Regions from separate parts of the Homo sapiens genome. Here all the other regions are linked to region 3. Evidence: promoter capture Hi-C in 16 types of primary human blood cells and fetal thymus (Javierre and others, 2016). All regions are on one chromosome and are shown on one strand. The core of a region is centred on a gene start or on the middle of the fragment in contact, and the rest is flanking DNA. Distances in the headings are between cores, read along the strand shown.

Evidence for each region. Contacts are between HindIII fragments. The CHiCAGO score rates a contact against its expected background, and 5 or more counts as called.
Region 1: a fragment that was not itself captured here is called in contact with the fragment with the promoter of SCLT1 in region 3 in 1 of 17 cell types (activated CD4 T cells); the score reaches 7.2 in activated CD4 T cells.
Region 2: the fragment with the promoter of OTUD4 here is called in contact with the fragment with the promoter of SCLT1 in region 3 in 2 of 17 cell types (non-activated CD4 T cells and total B cells); the score reaches 6.0 in non-activated CD4 T cells.

The regions. Positions count from the first base shown.
Region 1 is chr4:148,440,837-148,444,112 of GRCh38, forward strand. It overlaps NR3C2 (nuclear receptor subfamily 3 group C member 2), which reads right to left and starts at 1,578. Exons shown (of 9, transcript NM_000901.5): 1 at 1,324-1,578. RefSeq lists a silencer at 1,486-1,775. The HindIII fragment of the contact is 1,777 bases long and covers 768-2,544 here.
Region 2 is chr4:145,178,792-145,182,250 of GRCh38, forward strand. OTUD4 (OTU deubiquitinase 4) reads right to left here and starts at 1,798. Exons shown (of 21, transcript NM_001366057.1): 1 at 1,024-1,798. The coding sequence starts at 1,182. It overlaps LOC124900794 (a long non-coding RNA gene), which reads left to right and starts at 3,402. Exons shown (of 2, transcript XR_007058294.1): 1 at 3,402-3,459. RefSeq lists enhancers at 900-1,729, 1,730-2,559 and silencers at 905-1,364, 1,485-1,714, 1,805-2,204. The HindIII fragment of the contact is 3,984 bases long and covers 1-3,459 here.
Region 3 is chr4:129,091,738-129,095,117 of GRCh38, forward strand. It overlaps SCLT1 (sodium channel and clathrin linker 1), which reads right to left and starts at 1,802. Exons shown (of 21, transcript NM_144643.4): 1 at 1,333-1,802. The coding sequence starts at 1,366. It also overlaps a transcript of C4orf33 not described here. RefSeq lists an enhancer at 1,497-2,066. The HindIII fragment of the contact is 3,346 bases long and covers 1-2,431 here.

The DNA.
Region 1 (3,276 bases), core at 406-2,905, about 19 Mb after region 3:
TGGAAACACTTTCACTTTTAGTAACCCCCAAAACCCAATCTCATCATGATGGAAATGATAGAAAAGGCATCTTTTTTATATTTATTTGACTATAAGATGGCACTTTAAAGACTAAAGCTTAAGAATCTCACAATCATCTATAGACTGCATAGTTGTAAAAGTTCACTATATGTAACTATTTTTTGTCATTCCCCACTACATAACTATTATGTTCCTCTCTTTTATAGATGAGGTAAATGATAGAAATCTGCCCAAGGTCACCTGAGAGAGCGGGAGAACCAGTTAGAACTGAGCACACCTGATTTCTATTCACTCACCTAATTTACCGAGCCACCTGATCTTTCCAAAAATCGCCAAACAAAACTATGCCTCCCTTAAAGGAAAAAGCTCCACTTTAAATTATTTTTTAAAACTTCTCCTCTCAAGCTTTTCCATGATAGCTGCCACGATGTCAAACATAAAATTTAAACTTCACAGCAGGACTTCACAGATGGAGAATGCTGTTATCATTACTATGTAAATATCATCAATAACAGCACCTAGAGAAATGGCAATACAAAATGTTAGGAAGCAATTTGGTGCCTTTAAAATTCGGCGGTTTCAAAAGCTCGTCTGCTATCAAAAGTTTTCCTAACTCCTATGTCATAATAAATAATTAAAACTGATGGTGCCATAAACCATTATTATTTAAACCTGGTCTTTTTAAATTGAGTAGGCAAAGCCACGCACCTAAAATTCAGTAGCAGAGTAAGGATGCCACCAAAAGAAGCTTCGTCCCCTTCTCCCTTGCCCTTAAAATTCCAACTGATGCCATAGGAAGCGTAGCCTGTCTCAAGAGTTTCGCGAATGCTAGCGAACGGGAAATGCACGAATTTCCAGAGCCCCTTTTATACAGGATCTATTAGGATCTATATCTCCTTCAACTGCCCTTATGCGCTACACCTCCGGCTGAGATTTGGGAGCGTCCGCAATTGATAAAGGAAAGAAATATTATTCAAACGTCCTTTAAAAATTGTACAGGGAAAATGATCCGAAATTCATCTTTGGGTAAAGGGAAGGGTGGTAGACCTCCCACTGCCAAAGGCAGTTAAAAGCTGCTAGTTAGAGGGCATTTATCCAAAGTGGCCAAACTTTCCCAAAATAGTCCTCTGGCGGCCAAAGGGGGAGAAAAGTGGAAAACCAAAACAAAACAACAAGCACACAGCACCATACTGACTGTGCCTCCGGATTACGCAGCCACTTCTCCCTGCAAAGTGCACGCTCCCGCGCCGCGGCCGCACGCCGAGCACGGCAAGCGGTGCCCCGCCGCGCGCCCCTACACACCTGCCTCGGCCGGGGTCCGTCTCTCGCCGTCTACCTGTTGCAGCGCTTGCCACCGCCACGAAACCCCTGCTGCGGAGCCCCCCTAAATCCAACCACATCCAGGCCAGCGAGTGCCGCTCTCCCTGCAGCGGGAGAGCCCGAGGCAGCAACGCTCTTGCACCCAGGTGACTGACTGCACGGGCTTCCTCTGAGCAGCCTGAAGTTGGCTCCCGTCTCCCGGGCCCAATGACACCCCGGGCGCGGAGGGGCTGAGAGGAGGGGGCAGGGGCAGGGGCAGGGCCAGGGCGGGCAAAAAAGGGAGGGAGAGAGGGCGGGCGAAAGCCCGGAGGGGGAGTGGGCCAGCTGGAGGGCTGGCCCTTTTAAAAGCGGGTCACATGTCCAGATAAAGTTCAGGTTGCTATCCCGCCCCCCTGAACCCTTCCTATTGGCCCGAAGAGAAGCAAGGCTCCACGCCGCACGGGTCAGGCGGGCTTCTTATTGGACAATCCAGGCTGTCAGTCACCAGGCGGGCGACATGACTGATACAAAGTTGCTGCGACACAGCCTGGACTCGGCAGCTTCCTTAAAGCCGCAGCCGCGGCGGGAGCTTGGGGTGCCGGGCGGTGGCTACATCAGGCGGCCTCCGCACGCTGCCCCCACCCCCATCGCTCGGCCGCCCCAAACTTGCTTACGTCCACCCTGCTCTCCTTCTGACCGACCCCAGGATATCTGGAGAGATGTGAAAAGTGTGCTGACGCGGAAGAAGTCGGTTTTTCCGCGAGCAAAGTGTCGTCCCCTCACGCTCTCCACCTGCAGCTCCAGGTGAGCTGCAGCCCAGACCCTGGCGCCGCCCAACAGCGTCCGCGCGCGGGGAGGACTCTGGGTGGGCTTCACCCGACCCTCGAGGTTCCTCTCCCAGCCCCTTTCCACTGTCTCCAGAGTTACCTCTCAGCAGAGCAGCAGCAGCCTTCGCTGCCAGCGAGCAAGACGATCACGTTCACTCGATTTGAATTTAGTTGTTTTAACCGTGCTGGAAAAACCCTTTAAACACAGCTTTCCTCCCATCCCTTAGACCCCTAACACCAAAAAAAAAAAAAAAAAAAAAAAAAAAAAAAAGAGAGAGAGAGAAAGATAAATGAAAGAAGTGGCAGGGTCAAGAGCTGCTCCTCTACTTCCTTATAATTTTGTCACTGTACTTACTACTTTAGTATTGGATTTTTCCACTAGTTCAATTTGAAAGCAAGCTTACCATCGAGGATATTCACGTTATAATGGGTGGAGGGGGTGGGTCACATAAGTGGGAGAAACAGACAGGAGGGGGGAAGGAACCAAACTGTTTTCTAAGGATCGGTTGTCTGCATGAAGAAATTTCGGTTTCCCTCCAACCGCCCCCTCCTCGATTCTCCTCCCGCCCACCCAAATGCTGCAGTTACTAAGCAAAAGGATGGGGTTCCTAACTTTGATTTCTAAGGACTTTTAGGCTTCTCATGTAAGGCCCCGTTTTAGGCTCCCCGCTGGCCCGGAGTCAGCATCAGTGACGTATACACCTAAATCTGGTCCCCCGGCCCTCGGCGACCCGCAGCCCGGCGGCGGCAGCTGTGCGGCCTCCCGCCTCACCCTCGCTTCGCGCCCGCCAAAGCCCGAGGCGGGGGACCGGGGGACACCCTGTGCCCAAAGGCCCCTCCTCTCCTTAACAGTTAGTTAAGCTCCGGGATTCCGGACCCCTAACCCAGGGCTGAGACTTGAACTCTCAGCCGCTCCAGTCAGGAACTCCCTGGAGATAGGGGCGACAGCGGCAGCGCCGCGAGCTGGTCCTGACCCCAGACTCTAATGCCCCTCGGTCCCCAGCTTGGAGCTGCCCCCGGCGTCCCCGCAGCCAGGAGTCCCCGCCGAGCGTCCCAACTTTCCCGCGGGGCCCACCGTCACGCGCACTCTCCCGGCCCAGCGAACTGGGCATCGATCTCACGTCGGCAG
Region 2 (3,459 bases), core at 548-3,047, about 16 Mb after region 3:
ATAGAAATTTTAAAAGTTATTTAGCATTCAAAAAAGGTGAGGGAAAAGAAAACAGAAACATCATAAAAACCCCACAGGCGGGTAGGGAGGGGTGTGCAATGGGGTGTGGGGAGCAGGTCCTAGGTCAAAGGAAAGCACATGTGAATCGTCTGAAAGACACACCAGAGCAGAAACTTTTATCCAGCTACTTCGGCAGCTATTTTTCAATATAGGATGGGTTTTGGTGACTGCACACCTACAACACACAGTGTTATATAACATGGAATAAGCTCGCTCAAAAAAAAAAATTCAGAAAAATCTTCCTGAGCAACTGTGTTAGAAAATGGTTTTGAAAAGCTCCAGTTACACGTACCCTTTCTACTACCAACATCAAAACAGGCTTTTTTAAAAAAGTCAGTTCTGTTTAGTATACCTACACAGCCCAGCAGAGCATAATAAAGGGTGGAACCTACTCAAGACAAATCCTTCAAAATATTCTATATTTGTAAAAGGCTGGTTTTCTCAAACGGCAGTTTGCCCATTTGATTCAAGTGACATGGGCGAGCTTGCCTACCCTACATTCCAAAGTCCAGCAGCAAACCAAAATATGTTCCACAAGTAAAGTTTGATCCACCACTTCTAGTAAACACTTGGTTTACTGGAGTGGGGTGAGCGTGGTGCTTCTCAAACGAAGGGAAGGAAGGTGAATGCGGAACAAAAGTAAAAAATATCATGTCGCCAGGTCCCCAGCAATAAATCAACTGTACAAGCTCCGAGCAGGCCTCACAAGTTGTCCTCAACTCATTACCTCTTCATCAGGAGAGAGACACCCCGTTAATTTGCGGGCTTTCGAGTTTCAATTTGCACCTTTCAGACGCAAAGCAGCGTCCCACTCCGGCGTTACAATGGGGCGCTGTGACGACAGCCAGGGCACGCGCAGCCCCGGCCGTGGGCGGCCCGGACAGCCCGCAGCTGCCTCCCCACCCAGACCCGCCGGGCCGTCCCCGCCTCCCCTCGAAGCCCTCCCCGCCCCCCCGCAATTACCTGCTCCGCCACGGCCCGGAACAGGCACGACCCGTCCTTGGCGACCAGTTTCCGATACAAGCCCAGTTTCCGCAGATAGGCGTCCATGGGCGTCGCGTCCTCGCGGGGCCCCGCGCCGCCCTGGTCCCCGCCGTCGGGGACGCCGACGGCAGCCTCCATGTTGCTGGTCCTGCTGCAGGCCAGGCGCGGCGAGGGCTAGCCCCACATGGCCAGGCCGCCGGCTGCTCGACGCCCCGGCCTGGGGCAGGCGGCGGCTCGGGCTGGGGCTCGGGCTCCGCGAGCGGCGGCAGGCGGCGGCGGCCCGAGGCAGCGGTCCGCGCTCTCCGGGCGCATAGGGAAGCCCTGCCTAATGCATGGCTGTCCGCACGCGGCCGCCTCCTCGGAGCGAACACGCGCCCACGACAAACGGGGGGAGCGGGATTAAGGAAAACCCCGAGAGTGAGTAGTCACTTCCCGACGGCCTCGCTGCCTGACTCAGGACCCAGGCCGGGGGTCGCCGCCCCCACAAGTTTCCTCCTCCGTACCGGTGTGAAGCGAGAAAACCCCCGCCCCTGGCGCGCACGCTGGGCCGGCTCAGGTGAAGCGGGGCCTGCGCCCCCGCGCACTCCCCACGCCGGGAGCCGAGGAAACCAAAAAGAAAGACGCGGCCTTTCGTTTCCCCACCTCGCTGGAGGGCGCCGGAGGGGCAGGGAGCGGGTGGGGGCGCCCGGGAGAGAACAGCACCTCGCAGCCCAGAATTTGTTTTCGCTTTCGGCCCGACAGCGGAGAGGACGGCGGGAGATGTAGTCTTGGCAGCCGCAGGAAGTCGGCTTGCGGCGGGCGGGGACGCGCTGGCCGGCCTACCCGGGGGAGGTGCCCGGGAGGCGCGCGGACTACAAGTCCCTACAGCGCGGGCGCGCCGCCGCCACCGCCACCGCCCCAAGCCGGCTTCGCGCTGCACTGGCGCCGCGTCCGCGAGCAGGCCGAGGGGCTCCGCCGGCCGATGTGGGGCGACCTGCGCGCGCCACCCGCCAACCCTGCCGCTGCGCCGCGGGAATCGCGCGCGCCGGGCTGGCGTGGAGTTGCCAGGGACACGGCGGCGCAGTGTCGGCCCTTTGTGTATTTCTTTCCAGAGGGCGCACCTGTCTGCTCCCTTCCCCCCGGCCTGCTCTCCTGGTGTTTCCATGGAGGTGGCTTTAACGGCTTAAGCAGAAAATAGAGCTAATTGGCTGAGGCTCCGGGAACTGGCACGGTGCGGGACGACACACTCTGTCCATAAATCAACCGTGGACTGCTGATTGCTATTAGTAGTACAGCTCACGTACTACGGCAAGATGAAGGCTTTGCCAAAGACATTTTTGTTCACCCTGTCACTGTAGCTGAGCACCCCATCACAGAGACATGTCACTGTCGGAAGACGTTAGGGTTTTTTTTTCCCCCTTAAAAAATTCATCTTGTAAATTGCTTGATAACATGCTGACTGGACTGGCCATGGCTTCCACCAGTGCTCGAGGCTTCAGCTCAACTTCCCACCCTCCGACGTTGAATGGCAGGGAATTGACAAAGTTAAATTATGCTTTAGAACCCAGAATTTATCCAGCATGCTTCTGTTGCACCAAAATTTTATTTTGCTAAGATACAACATCTGGTGTCCTTATTTAAATACATGGTTAATCATAGGAACTAATTCAGTCTTTTAGGCTATGGTGGAGGAGAGGGAGAAGAAAAGGGAGCATTACTATAGGTTTAGACATGTAGTCAAATACCTTGGAATGGGGGGCAAGGCAGGCCAGGTGGTGAGAGTCCAACGACAAAAATTTTTTAAAAACTACGTTAGACACTTTTCAGTATTTTCAGTGCAAGCAATCAGTCATGTATTCACTTTCCTTGGAGCGTCTTTGATTTCTTAATGTTTAAATATTGTATCTCAAATTATGCTGCTTTTAGAGAATACAAACGTTATCGTTACCTAAATGAAAAAATGTCCCTGCCTCAAATTTACTTGTTGTAGCGAAGAAACACTTTGAAATCAGGTTTAGAAAAGTATAGTTTCAGCTGGGCGTGGTGGCTCACGCCTGTAATCCCAGCACTTTGGGAGGCCGAGGCAGCCCGGTCACCTGAGGTCAGGAGTTCGAGACCAGCCTGACCAACATGGAGAAACCCCGTCTCTACTAAAAATACAAAATTAGTCGGGCGTGGTGGCACATGCTACTCGGGAGGCTACTCCCAGCTACTCGGGAGGCTGAGGCAGGAGAATAGCTTGAACCCAGGAGGCAGAGGTTGCGGTGAGCCGAGATCCCAACATTGCATTCCAGCCTGGGCAACAAGAGCGAAACTCCGTCTCAAAAAAAAAAAAAAAAAAACGGAAAAGAAAAATATAGCTTCAAGTCAAACCTGTTGCTTTTCTTTTTAAAATACACTTACATTGCATATACTTCTCATTCTTCTCAAAAAAAA
Region 3 (3,380 bases), core at 552-3,051:
CACAACTTCAAGAGGATTCTTGTGTTCTTATACTCATTATATAAATGAGAAAACTGAGGTGCAGAAAAGCTAGGAAACTTGCTCGAGGTCACAGACCTGGAAAGAGGTAGGCTGTGAGCCCAGACAGACTAAATCCAGAGGCTGACTGAGTTCTTAACCACTGGTCTATAATGCTACCAAAACGGAACTTACTACCTTTTTCCTAACTTCCCCGTTGCTCAAGCAAAAACTAAGTTGCTCTCTACCTCTTTCTCTCAAATCCCCTGATCTCCAGTCTCCCTGTGCCCAACTTAGTTTACTTCTTACCTGAATGATGACAGTAGACAACTAACTGCACTCTGCTATAATGCATATTCCCCGTAAAAATCAGACCGGGCCTTCTAAACTACAATTTGATCATGCCACTCTCAACTGAATTCCTATAACCCATGCAATGGTCCATACTCCTTAGCACAGAGAAGACAGGGCCCTTCACCATCCAGCCCCTTTCTACGCCTTCAACTGCACTTGCCATTTCCCTATATAAATATTCCAATTCAATTTACATCAATATTACACTCAAACCAGCCGTATTGCAAGTCTTTAACAAAGCATATTCCTAATCCCCTCAGTGTCACAAATATTGTTCTATTTGGGATGCCTAGAGTTTTTCATATAGTAAATTCATATTTGTACTGCACGTTTCAGCCCAATAGCACCTTCCTTGAACATATTTTAATAATAATCGTGTAATAGTTAATATTTGTTTAACACAATGTATCAGATACTATTCTAAATCCTTTACATATTTTAATATTCATTTAATCTTTCCAACAACCCTATGAGACTGTGGCAAAAGAGCCAGCAGTTGCTGTCACTTCAATATATTTTGGAATACATTTCCCTCCCCAAATTAAATTCTTGGAGGTAAAAACTGTCCTGTTTATCTTTGCAGCAGCTGTTCTTCCATAGTGTCTGGTACATAATAGAAACAGGAGTTCAATAAACATCTTTTTAATAAATGGCCAGAGAGCTGTGCCCCTAGATTTTAAATGCACACTTGGAAACTCCTGCTGGCCATTAGCCTTCTAATCTTCAGAGCACGAGAGGAGCATAACAAACATGTTTAGCGTCTAGTAGAATTCTGTGTAAGCTACAAGTACTACCACACGGTTCTGCTTAAATATACACACATCCTCACGTATAACATCAAGGTTTTTTTTTTCCTGCAACTAACTTCTTTAACTCTTTACCAATTTAAATGTACCCAACCAGCATTCAAAAAAGATTTGTCGGTCAACGACGACGATATTAAACATTGTATATGAAGTCTCAAAAAAACATGGAGCTTACTTTGCTCTCTCAGAAAGTCGATTTCTGCAGCCATTTCGATACAATTTTAGTTTAGAGCTTTCACCACCTTTACCTTCCTCTGAAAGACAGAGAGCTTGCTGTGCGGGAAAACAAAACTAAGCCAACGCTCGGTTGGTTGTCAAGCGCTCCAGCGGTGCAATCTGCATCCTACTCACGCGGCATCTACAGCCCCGCCACGCTTCTTTCCCCCGCGCCCCAGACGAGTCCCTGGCCCTGGTGAGAGACTGAAGATTGCTGGGGACTCCACGTTCAACCGAATCCCACGCTGGTGGGAAGAGGACGCGGTCGATACAGGCGTCCCGCGGGTCACTCTGGGTCTCGTCGGGCCACCTAGGAGAGTGCCGCGGGAGCTTGACGGCAGCCTGAGAGCGGCGTTCTACGCGGAGCGGCGGGGGTTGGAGAGGACAACGCCAAGACGGCTGGGAAGCCCCAGGCCAGCAGCGGAAGTCCACTCGGCCCGCCCTGCGACTTTGAAACCGGTGCCCCGGACCACTCCTTGGAGACGGTGGCGCCTCTTGCGTCATCACGCGGGCGTTGGAGCTTACGCCATCGCGCGTCCTAGAGTCCTAGCACGCTATTGGCTGGCTGTCAAGCAATGGGAGGAGTCGTGAGAACCTGGATGACAGCGGGCTGAGCCACCGGCTTGGCGCGGCGGCCAAACTGGTGGGACAGTGTCTCCAGGTAGTGAGGCCCAACCTCTTTAAAACAAACAAACAAACAAACAAAAAACCAAAATGCAAACGTGAGTAGAGAATGAAATACACAGTTTAAATGCCCTCACTATCTTTGGGTTACTAATATACTAAGCCTTTCTGGACTAAGTAAAAGATGCAGGTTCCTGCGGCTAGGGATAGAAGCCAGACTGGCGTCTTCAGAATCTCCCACCAAGGCTGTACCTCTGGAGGAGTTCTAGGTTTGGATTTGGTCATCTCAAGAAGGTAAGTACCTTCTCGGTCTTTGTGGGTCTTTAGACAAAGGAGACAACTGTTGTTTAAATATTTAACTGTGTAGTAATAAAGCGTGTAGTTAGAAGTACTCAAAAGATCTTGCAAATTCAGCAGCTACTTCTTCAAAGATAAGCTTGTTTCCTCAAATATAAGGAAAGATAAAAGGTACTTTTTTTTGCAAAAAACAAAACGGTAAAACTTACATTTGTGGATAGATTACAATTTTCATTTTTGAAAATTAATTTTGTCTGGACTTAAAACGTATTTTTTTAAAAAAAATCATTTAACATTAGAGGAAATCTCACCACTAGCAACAAAAATGTTAACTTGAAGCTAGCCACTAGTTTTGTGCTTTTAATAAATTGTATTTTTATGGACTGAAGTAAAGTTTCACTAAACAGGCATGTCATAGATGCAGCTTGATTTGGCTTTCTGTTTAACGGCTTAAGAGTTTTGTTGTCCCGTACTCATAATGTCATATAAACAAAGTAACCTTAGCGATATGTGTTAAGAAATTTTAAAAATGTATTCAAATATATGCAGTTAGGCATCTGAAGGCCTTACTCAATACTCACTGTTAATAGAATGAGATGGTCCCTTCCTCTAAAGACTAGCTGTTAAATATGGATGTGTAGCTTAATAATCATTGAAAAGGTCTAATCCAGCTTTGAGTTGGTGATAATTGAACTTGTTCTGATTTTTAGTAGCTATAACGTTTACACAAAAACTTTTTGTATAAACGTTATAGCTAAGGGAAAATTGAGTGTGCAAGGTCCAACTCGTTTTTGAAGTTCAGTATATGACTCTTTCTTCATAAACATCTCACTGACTCTCCAAGGACTTGCTTGTAACTTCTCCCACATTTGAACCTTGTATATTGTCGTATTTCTACTTGGCATCAAATAAATAATTATAGACTTAACTCTACGCTTACACCCAAACTGGATGGAAGCAAATACCTTCTGGCTATAACTGATGAGTGGTATTTACATAAAGTGAATATCTCAGGTGAAAACTTTTATGTCTGCACTCGAATTTTTTAGCTTACATGATCATAATTATGATCATGATAGTTTTTTG